Regions from separate parts of the Homo sapiens genome. Here region 2 is linked to region 1. The links are contacts of gene promoters, found by promoter capture Hi-C in blood cells and fetal thymus (Javierre and others, 2016). All regions are on one chromosome and are shown on one strand. The core of a region is centred on a gene start or on the middle of the fragment in contact, and the rest is flanking DNA. Distances in the headings are between cores, read along the strand shown. Region 1 holds the start of RAD50 (RAD50 double strand break repair protein). Region 2 holds the start of CCNI2 (cyclin I family member 2).

Region 1 (4,342 bases), core at 1,550-4,049:
CAACATGGTGAAACCCCGTCTCTACTAAAAATACAAAAAATTAGCCAGGTGTGGTGCCACGTGCCTGTAATCCCAGCTACTCAGGAGGCTGAGGCAGAAGAATCACTTGAACGCGGGAGGTGGAGGTTGCAGTGAGCCAAGATCGCACCATTGCACTCCAGTCTGGGTGACAGAGTGAGACTCCATCTCAAAAAAAAAAAAAAAAAAAAAGTCTCCACTTGAATAGTCAATTATTCAAAGATACACAAATGGCCAATAAACACATGAAATGATGCTACTAATAATTATTGAAATGCAAATCAAAATTACAATGAGGTATCACTTCACACTCATCAGGATGGCTACCATAAAAAAACATAAAATAACAAGTGTTGGCAAGCATATGTAGAAATTGAAACCCTTATGCACTATTGGTGGGAATGTCAAATGGTACAACCACTGTGGAAAACAGTATGGCAGTTCCTCAAATAATTAAAAATTGAATTACTGTATGATCTAATAATTCCACTTCTGGGTATATACCCAAAAGAATTGAAAGCAGGGTCCAGAAGTGACATTTGTACACCAATATATATAGCCACACTATTCACAATAGCTAAAACGTGAAAGTAACCCAAATGTCCATCAATAGATGGATAAGCAAAATGTGATGTGTATTGTAATGAATCTTATTCAACCTTAAAAACGACCTGAATTCTGATATATGCTACAGTGGTCCCCAACCTTTTTGGCACCAGGGACCAGTCTCACGGAAGACAGTTTTTCCACAGACAGGAGTGGGGTGATGGTTTTGGGATGAAACTGTTCGACCTCACATCATCAGGCATTAGATTCTCATAAGGAATGGGCAAGCTAGATCCCTTGCATGGGGCAACCTACATCTTTCTCATGGGCAGTTCAAAATACGGTTTGTGCTCCTATGAGAATCTAATGCCCCCACTGATCTGAGGCCCAGCTCGGGTGGTAATGTTCACTCACCTGCTGCTCACCTCCTACTGTGCCACCAGGTTCCTAACAGGCCAGGTATGCATACTGGTCAGTGACCCAGGGGTTGGGGACTGAGCTGCAACATGGATGAACCTTGAGGACATTATAAGTGAAATGAGCCAGTCACAAAAAGATAAATACTGTATGATTCCACTTATATGAGGTACTTAGTAAAAAATTATAGAGACAGTAAGTAGAATGTTGGTTGTCAGGGTTTGGAGGATGTGGGGAGGAAAGGGTTATTGTTTAATGGGTAGTTTGTTTTGCAAAGTGAAAAGATTTGTAGAGGTTGAAAGGTGGTGACGGTTGTACGTGAGTATACTTAACACCACTGAAATGTACACTTGGTTAAGATAGTAAATTCTTTTTGAGACGGAGTCTCGCTCTGTTGCCCAGGCTGGAGTGCAGTGGTGCGGTCTCGGCTCACTGCAAGCTCCGCCTCCCGGGTTCATGCCATACTCCTGCCTCAGCCTCCTGAGTAGCTGGGACCATCGGCGCCTGCCACCATGCCCGGCTAATTTTTTGTGTTTTCAGTAGAGACGGGGTTTCACCGTGTTAGCCAGGATGGTCTTCATTTCCTGACCTCGTGATCCACCCGTCTCGGCCTCCCAAAGTGCTGGGATTACAGGCGTGAGCCACCGCGCCTGGCCAAGACAGTAAATTTTATGTGTATTTTACAATTTTTAAAATAAAAAAAGGTCTTTCGTCTTTTCCCATTGTTTTATTACATTTGCTTTGCCAAGTAAGACATTCCTATATAATTTTAATGTTTTGTTCCATTAGTTATTTTAACTATTTTGTAATAACTGACACTTTCCGGTTTTTTTTAACCTGGTACAGCAAGAGACTATTTCTCACTGGTCTTCCCCACTTGCATCCTTTGGCACATACATTTATGTATTAGGTTCTGTAAATTATTTGCTTGGGATTGTATGACTGGAGAAACATTTCCTACATTTTTCCAAGGCAGGCAGAGGCAAATTATACCACTACAGTAATTCCAAATTTGTGTTTCATTTAAATGTCCTCCACTATTGTTTCAGTAATTTTTATGTATGTTTCTCTAGGCCCTTAAATGTGATATCCCTCCATTAAGTTTGTTTCCAAGAAAGCAATATTCTCAGTTACTTCTGAGACAGGTAACTTCTCTTTCCCTTATTTTTAAAGATATCTATTGCTGGGAGCACTGATCGGAATGGATTACCTCTACATTCTTCATATTTGCAGACTGCTTTTAGTTTTAGTTCCCAGACTTTTGGTCTTAAAGACGCCTTTACACTAAAAAATTACGGGGGACCTCAAAGAGCGTGTACGTGAGTTATAATTATCAACATTTACTCAATTAGAAATTAAAATTGGTATTTCTAAGCGCAAGAATACACATGCGCACATTCCATTAACCGCCACTGCAATGGCGTCATCACATGTTATGTGATCACTGGAAATTACTACACGAACGTTAGAGAGAGAATGAGAATGAAAAGGAAAATAGTTTTGACACGAACTGACCCCGCTTCCTGGGTCTCCAATCCACCCCACCACTACCCCCATTCCAGGAGTCCCAGGATCAAGCTTTGGGAAGCGCCATCCGTCACAGGTCTTGGTCTCCCCTTCCAAAAGTCAGTGCCTCTCCAGGCTGCCCATCCCCAGCAAAGATCCGGAAGTCCGCTGCCCCTGGCAACAGCACCCAGCACCTAGCCCTCTGCTTCGCCGTACCGCACCCGGAAGTCGGAGCTGCGCACGCACCGCGGGACTCTGATTTCCCGGCGTGCCCCAGGAGAGCGGCGTGGACGCGTGCGGGCCTAGAGGCCCACGTGATCCGCAGGGCGGCCGAGGCAGGAAGCTGTGAGTGCGCGGTTGCGGGGTCGCATTGTGGCTACGGCTTTGCGTCCCCGGCGGGCAGCCCCAGGCTGGTCCCCGCCTCCGCTCTCCCCACCGGCGGGGAAAGCAGCTGGTGTGGGAGGAAAGGCTCCATCCCCCGCCCCCTCTCTCCCGCTGTTGGCTGGCAGGATCTTTTGGCAGTCCTGTGGCCTCGCTCCCCGCCCGGATCCTCCTGACCCTGAGATTCGCGGGTCTCACGTCCCGTGCACGCCTTGCTTCGGCCTCAGTTAAGCCTTTGTGGGCTCCAGGTCCCTGGTGAGATTAGAAACGTTTGCAAACATGTCCCGGATCGAAAAGATGAGCATTCTGGGCGTGCGGAGTTTTGGAATAGAGGACAAAGATAAGCAAATTATCACTTTCTTCAGCCCCCTTACAATTTTGGTTGGACCCAATGGGGCGGGAAAGACGGTAAGTCTTCAGTAGCCGCCTTCAGTTTACAGGTCGCTACATCTTTCGGAGAATAAAATGGGAAGTTGAGAACTCTCCTTAGGAGCAGAAGCGTCCCTAGGGCTCCACAGGTGTAGGCCCTTAAAGTGCCTTAGGGTGTGGCCTGCAGGCTACAGCGACCTTAGGAGTTTGCCTGAAGCAGTCTCGGAAGGATGTCCGGACCTGGCCTGGGGACAAGGTTTACTTAAGAATCCCACGATACCGGGAGCTGTCGCCGCTCACTCAGAGTTCAGTTCCCACTGGATGCCCTTTGGTCTGTATTGATGTTTTTAACGCTGTCTCCTTGCTTTCAAAGCATAGCATTCACTTCCCAGTAGTTGTCCCATACAAGAATTCCTTTAAAAGTTATAAAATGATACATACATGACTAAAGAGTTTCCAAGTATGCCAACTGTCCAGACATAATACATGGAAAATAAATAAATTCAAAATGTAACTGATGTAGTGGGGCTTAACTTGGAAAACTTCTCTTCTTAAAACTCAGTCAAAAATTTAACGTTGGTGCACGACTGACTTTTTTTTTTTTTTAAAGCCGTGGGAATATTTATAAATTTGAATGGAAAGAATAACCAAGAGGCATTCTGGTCAGGAATAGTGGCTTAAGAAAAAGCAAGACGATGTCAGTATAGCAGGGAGAAGAGTCTAAAGGAAGGATTTGTGAAGAGTGTAGAAAGAGAGAAGGTTGAGAATTGAATGCCAAACTTGTTTACTTTTGTTTTTGTAAAAATGTTATTTGTTGAATGCTTGTTATGTACTTAGGATTGTACTAAATACTAGCAGAAGGGAGAGTAGTACTGTATAGTGTTTATGAGGACTGGCTGCCTCAATACAGCTTTTTCGCTTCATTTATTAGTTGTCTGATTGTTTGCGAGTGACCTCACTGCTCTGTGCCTTAGTTTTCTCATTTATAAAATGGAGATTAAAAATAGTTTCTACAGCTGGGCACGGTGGCTCACGCCTGTAATCCCAGCACTTTGGGAGGCCGAGGCGGGTGGATCACCTGAGGTCAGGAGTTCGAGACCAGCCT
Region 2 (4,721 bases), core at 651-3,150, 190 kb after region 1:
ATATTTGGGGTATGAATGATCCTGTCACCCAGGTACTGAGCACAGTACCCCATAGTTATCCAACCCTTGTCCCCTCCTTCCCTCCCCGCTCTGGTAGCCTCCAGTGTCTACTGTTGCCATCTTTACGTCCATGTGTACTCAATGCTCGCTTAAAAGTGAGAGCATGTAGTATATAATTTTCTGTTCCTGTGTTCATTTGCTTGGAATAATAGCTTCCAACTTCATCCATGTTTGCTACAAAGGACATGATTTCATTCTTTTTAATGACTACATAGTATTCCATATTGTATATGTACCACATTTTCTTTATCCAGTCGATCACTGAAGGGCACCTAGGTTGACTCCATGTCTTTGCTACTGTGACTAGTACTGTGATGAACATGCAAATGTATGTGTCTTTATGGTAGAACAATTTATTTTCCTTTTGCGTATATACCCAGTAAAGGGACTGCTGGGTTGAATAGTACTGTTTTAAGTTGTTTGAGAAATCTCTAAACTGCTTTCAACAGTGACTGAACTAATTTACATTACCACCAGCAGTGTATAAGCATTCCCTTTTCCCTGCAGCCTCACCAGCGTCTGTTGGTTTTTGACTTTTTAATAGTAGCCATTCTGATTGGTGTGAGATGCATTACTCTGATGATTAGTGATGTGGAGCATTTTTTCATGTTTGTTGACCACTTGTATATCTCCCTTTGAGAAGTCTATTCATGTCTTTTTGCCTGTTTTTTGATGGGGTTGTTTTTTGCTTGTTTAATTAAATTCCTTACAGATTCTGGATATTAAGACCTTTGTCGAATGCTTACTTTGCTAATACTTTTCTCCCACTCTATAGGTTGTCTGCTGACTCTGTTGATAGTTTCTTTTGATTTTCTACGGTTTAAATAGGAATGTCTAGGTGTAGTTCTTGGCATTTATCTTGCTTAATGTTCTCAGAGCTTCCTAGAATTGTGGTTTGGTGTTTGGCATTAATTTGGAAATATTCATTCTCAGTCGTTATTGTTTCAAATATTTCTTCTGTTCCTCTCTTTCTTGTCCTTCTGGTATTCCCATATATTTTTAATATACATTTAATGTAATGAATTTTTTAAACAAAATATAACTTAGGAGCCAGGTGTGGTGGTGTGCACCTGTAAGTCTCAGCTACTTGAGAAGCTGAGGTTGAGGGTAGCTTGAGTCCAGGAGTTTGAGGTTGTAGTGTGCTGCGATCACACCTGAGAATAGCCACTGCACTCCAGCTTGGGCAACATAGCAAGATCCACCCCTAAAATTTATGTATGTATGTGTATACATATATATGATTTGTATGATTTTCCTTATTATACGTTTATAGCTATATATGTATGTATAGATACATAAACATATATGTATATGAATGAATCACCTTGTGAGGGAGGTATTATCACTTTTTTTTTCGGAGAAGAGGTAGCCAAGGCTCTGAGAGGTCACGACACATGCATGAGATCACACAGCGCGTCTGGAATTCCATTTCAAGCCTGTCTGAGGAGGGCGCTCTCGCTGCTTCTTTACCTGGTCTTGTGTCCCCAAGTGTGTAATGTGAGGTAAGACCCAGGGTCTGTGTCCGGGAGTCCTGGCCCAAGGCGGGCGCAGTCTCCAGCCGCCCCACCCCTGGCTGGGGGCTCTGCTCAGGGAGCACGGCCGGCAGGGGGGAGGAGGCGTGCGCTAGGCAGCAGCGGGGATGGAGGGAAGGGAGGGGGTCCGCCACCCGCCTGTGCGCGCCCAGTCCTGCCGCATCCTGGGTGCGCGCCGCCCACCCGCGGGGCGAGTGCCCAGGAGGCGAGGCGCGGCCCGGTGCGCCAGAGGTAGCTCCACCGCGAGCGTTGTGGGTGGGGCCCGCCGAGCCCGCCTCCCCACCTCCCCCGGCGGCGCCCCAGGCTGCAGTGTTCCGGGAGCTGGGTTATAAAATGCCGGGTTAAGCGGCAACTCAGACTCAGGATCCCGCTCACGACATGGCCTCGGGCGCTCAGCTCCCGCCGCAGCCGTCGAGCTCAGAGGTCAGCGCCGTCCAGAGCCCAGGCGGGCGTCCCGGCGCCGGTCTGGAGGAAACAGCCCTGGGCGTTCCTCTCCCGCCGTCTCCGGGGGAGGCCCCTCTGCCCCGAAGCAACCGGAGCAGGTGCCCTGGGACCCGCCAGCCCGGAGCGGCCTCCCTCCACGCGGCGTCCGCAGCAGTCCCCGTGCGGCCCCGGCGCGGTACGGCGCCAGCCGGGAAAACCGCAGACGCGGTCCCCGCCGCCGCCCCAGAGCAAGCTCCGCGGCCGGCTCCACAGTCCCGCAAGCCGCGCAACCTGGAAGGCGACCTGGACGAGCGCCGGCTGCTCTGCCACTTGCAGCTGGCCCAGGACCGCGAGGCGCGCCTGTGGCGGGGCGGCAAACCCCAGGTACCCGTCGCTGCCGCGTGGCCCTCCTCGCGCGTGCACGGCAGGCGGATGTGGCCTCCACCTGCACCCGCGCTCGGGTGTTCTGAAACTGGAGGCCGGGCCCTTCCCCAGGTGTGGCCCCTCACGAGAGGCACGAGGCTGGATCCACCAGCTTCTCTCTAGGAGGGCGTCTTGCTAGCAGGGCCTTCGGAAGAGGGCCTGTTTGAATCAAGGAACTCAGCCTACGACGAAAAGTGGGCGCGAGGGGTGGGGGTGATGGGTGAGCCGCTGCGCCGGGGGGCGCTTACTCCCAGCGGGCATGCAGAGGAAGGGACTTCTCACTGCCCCACCCCCCGCACCTTAAGCAGGAGGCTCCTGCTGCTGGGGGACCAGGAGTGGCCGCTAGCGACCTTCCTCGCCCCACCTGCTCTTCTTCCTAGCAGGATGAAATCTGCGACGCCTTCGAGGAAGTCGTGCTGTGGCTCCTGCGGCTTCAGAACACCTTTTACTTCTCCCAGTCCACTTTTAACCTGGCCCTCACCATCTTTGGCCGCCTCCTGATTTCAGTGAAGGTAGGGAGGCCTCTGAGGGACGGTGGCAGATGGTGAGAGAAGAAACTAACCTTTGCTCCCCATTCCTGCTTGAGAGGTGAGGGTTTCCAGATGCTCAAAACCAAGGTGTATAAACTAACTTGCTCCGAGTGGAAGAGCTGGTGTTGGAACCTCTCCACATCCTACACTGGCTGTCTCAGGGTCATGTAGTCATCAGGATTGGACTTGGGGAGCGTGAGAGGACCTAGCTGGGAAAGGGCTTCCTGTGTAATGAGGTAGGATGTGCTTGTCTCGACCTGTCGAGGGCAGCTTGAGGCTAGGATGAGACTGGGTTCCCTGAGAAGGTGCCATATTTCCCACCTCCAGTCAGTCCCGAAATGAAGGAATACTGCCCAGTCATCTGCAGTTCTGAAATCAGGAGCATCTTCGTTGGTCAGATCTAAAAACGGCACTAACATTCTGTCTTGTGGAGAAATTGAGCCTTTTAAAAATGGGAAAAAAAAGCTTATTAAAACAAACGGCTGGGCGCAATGGCTCACGCCTGTAATCCCAGCAATTTGGGAGGCCAAGGGGTGTGGATCACTTGAGGTCAGGAGTTGGAGACCATCCTGGCCAGCATGGTGAAACCCTGTCTCTACTAAAAATACAAAAATTAGCCAGGTGTGGTGGCCCGCCCCTATAGTCCTAGCTACTCAGGAGGCTGTGACAGGAGAATCGCTCAAAATCAGGAGGTGGAGGTTGCAGTGAGCCAAGATCATGCCACTGCACTCCAGCCTGGGCAACAGAGTGAGACTCCATGTCAAAAAAGTGTATAAAAGAAAACAAACACAGATGCTTTTCAGTTTGTTTCTGGCATTCATATTCTGCTCAAATGTGTTTGTTCCATACTGCAGGTAAAAGAGAAATACCTGCATTGCGCCACAATTACTTCCTTGAGGCTCGCTGCAAAAGTTAATGAAGAAGAGGAGGTATGCATCCTTGGAAGTCCACACTGGGCTGCACTTGAGGTATAGGGGTGTAACATTGGAGGACTCCAGTTTCCTGATAGGTCTGTGCCCTTAGGTATGGTGGATGTTTTGAAAAAGTCACCAACTTGCCGGCATCTCTGCTATCCCTTCCATCGGCTTGTCAGGCTTTGAGACCCCACAAATGAACAAGTAGAGCAGCTGAACTGTCCTGGCCCACCAAACCTAGAGACCTGAACTCTTGACAGATACATCTGGCCTCACTGGTTGATGACAGATGCTACCTCTCTCTAAACAGGGGCATCTGCTGTTGAGCAAGGAAAAAGGCCTCCCAAACCATGTGACTTAACATCCACCCCAAGCAATTATGTCTAAGAAAGCTGCTTGAGACTTGAGGACTTGGCTGTGTCAATGAAGCTGGTCCTTGGGAACTCTGGGACCCCTGAGAGGGACAGGAGGGCCATGTGCTGGGGGTAAAGTACAAGGGGCCCATGAGCATTTCAGGCATGGCTGGATGGCTGAATTTCACTGTGGCATCTGTTCAGGAGGAGATCATCTCCTAATACCCTTTCCAAGCTTTCCTACCTCCCTCCAACTTCTCCCAGTTTGGGGATGGTGAAATCACTGCCATTGCCACGGGGGTCACCCTTAGCTGATCTCTGGGTCTGAGGAGGCAGGGAAGAAGTTGTGTGTCCAGTTCCAAACCTTCAATAAAAATGTTTTAAACTCCTGTTTATTAGAATAGAATTAATGCCCAAGTTGCTTTTGTCCAACTAAAAATCAAGTGACCCTTTTTCTGGAGGTTATAGTAATACTTCTGTTTATCT

What was found. Contacts are between HindIII fragments. The CHiCAGO score rates a contact against its expected background, and 5 or more counts as called.
Region 2: a contact is called between the fragment with the promoter of CCNI2 here and the fragment with the promoter of RAD50 in region 1, in 1 of 17 cell types (fetal thymus). The highest score is 5.7, in fetal thymus.

What each region holds. Positions count from the first base shown.
Region 1 is chr5:132,554,178-132,558,519 of GRCh38, forward strand. RAD50 (RAD50 double strand break repair protein) reads left to right here and starts at 2,800. Exons shown (of 25, transcript NM_005732.4): 1 at 2,800-3,276. The coding sequence starts at 3,148. It also overlaps a transcript of IL5 not described here. RefSeq lists an enhancer at 2,423-3,083. The HindIII fragment of the contact is 3,439 bases long and covers 2,558-4,342 here.
Region 2 is chr5:132,745,526-132,750,246 of GRCh38, forward strand. CCNI2 (cyclin I family member 2) reads left to right here and starts at 1,901. Exons shown (of 6, transcript NM_001039780.4): 1 at 1,901-2,399; 2 at 2,822-2,950; 3 at 3,823-3,897. The coding sequence starts at 1,971. RefSeq lists an enhancer at 1,384-1,463 and silencers at 1,554-1,973, 1,984-2,053, 2,074-2,263. The HindIII fragment of the contact is 9,894 bases long and covers 1-3,431 here.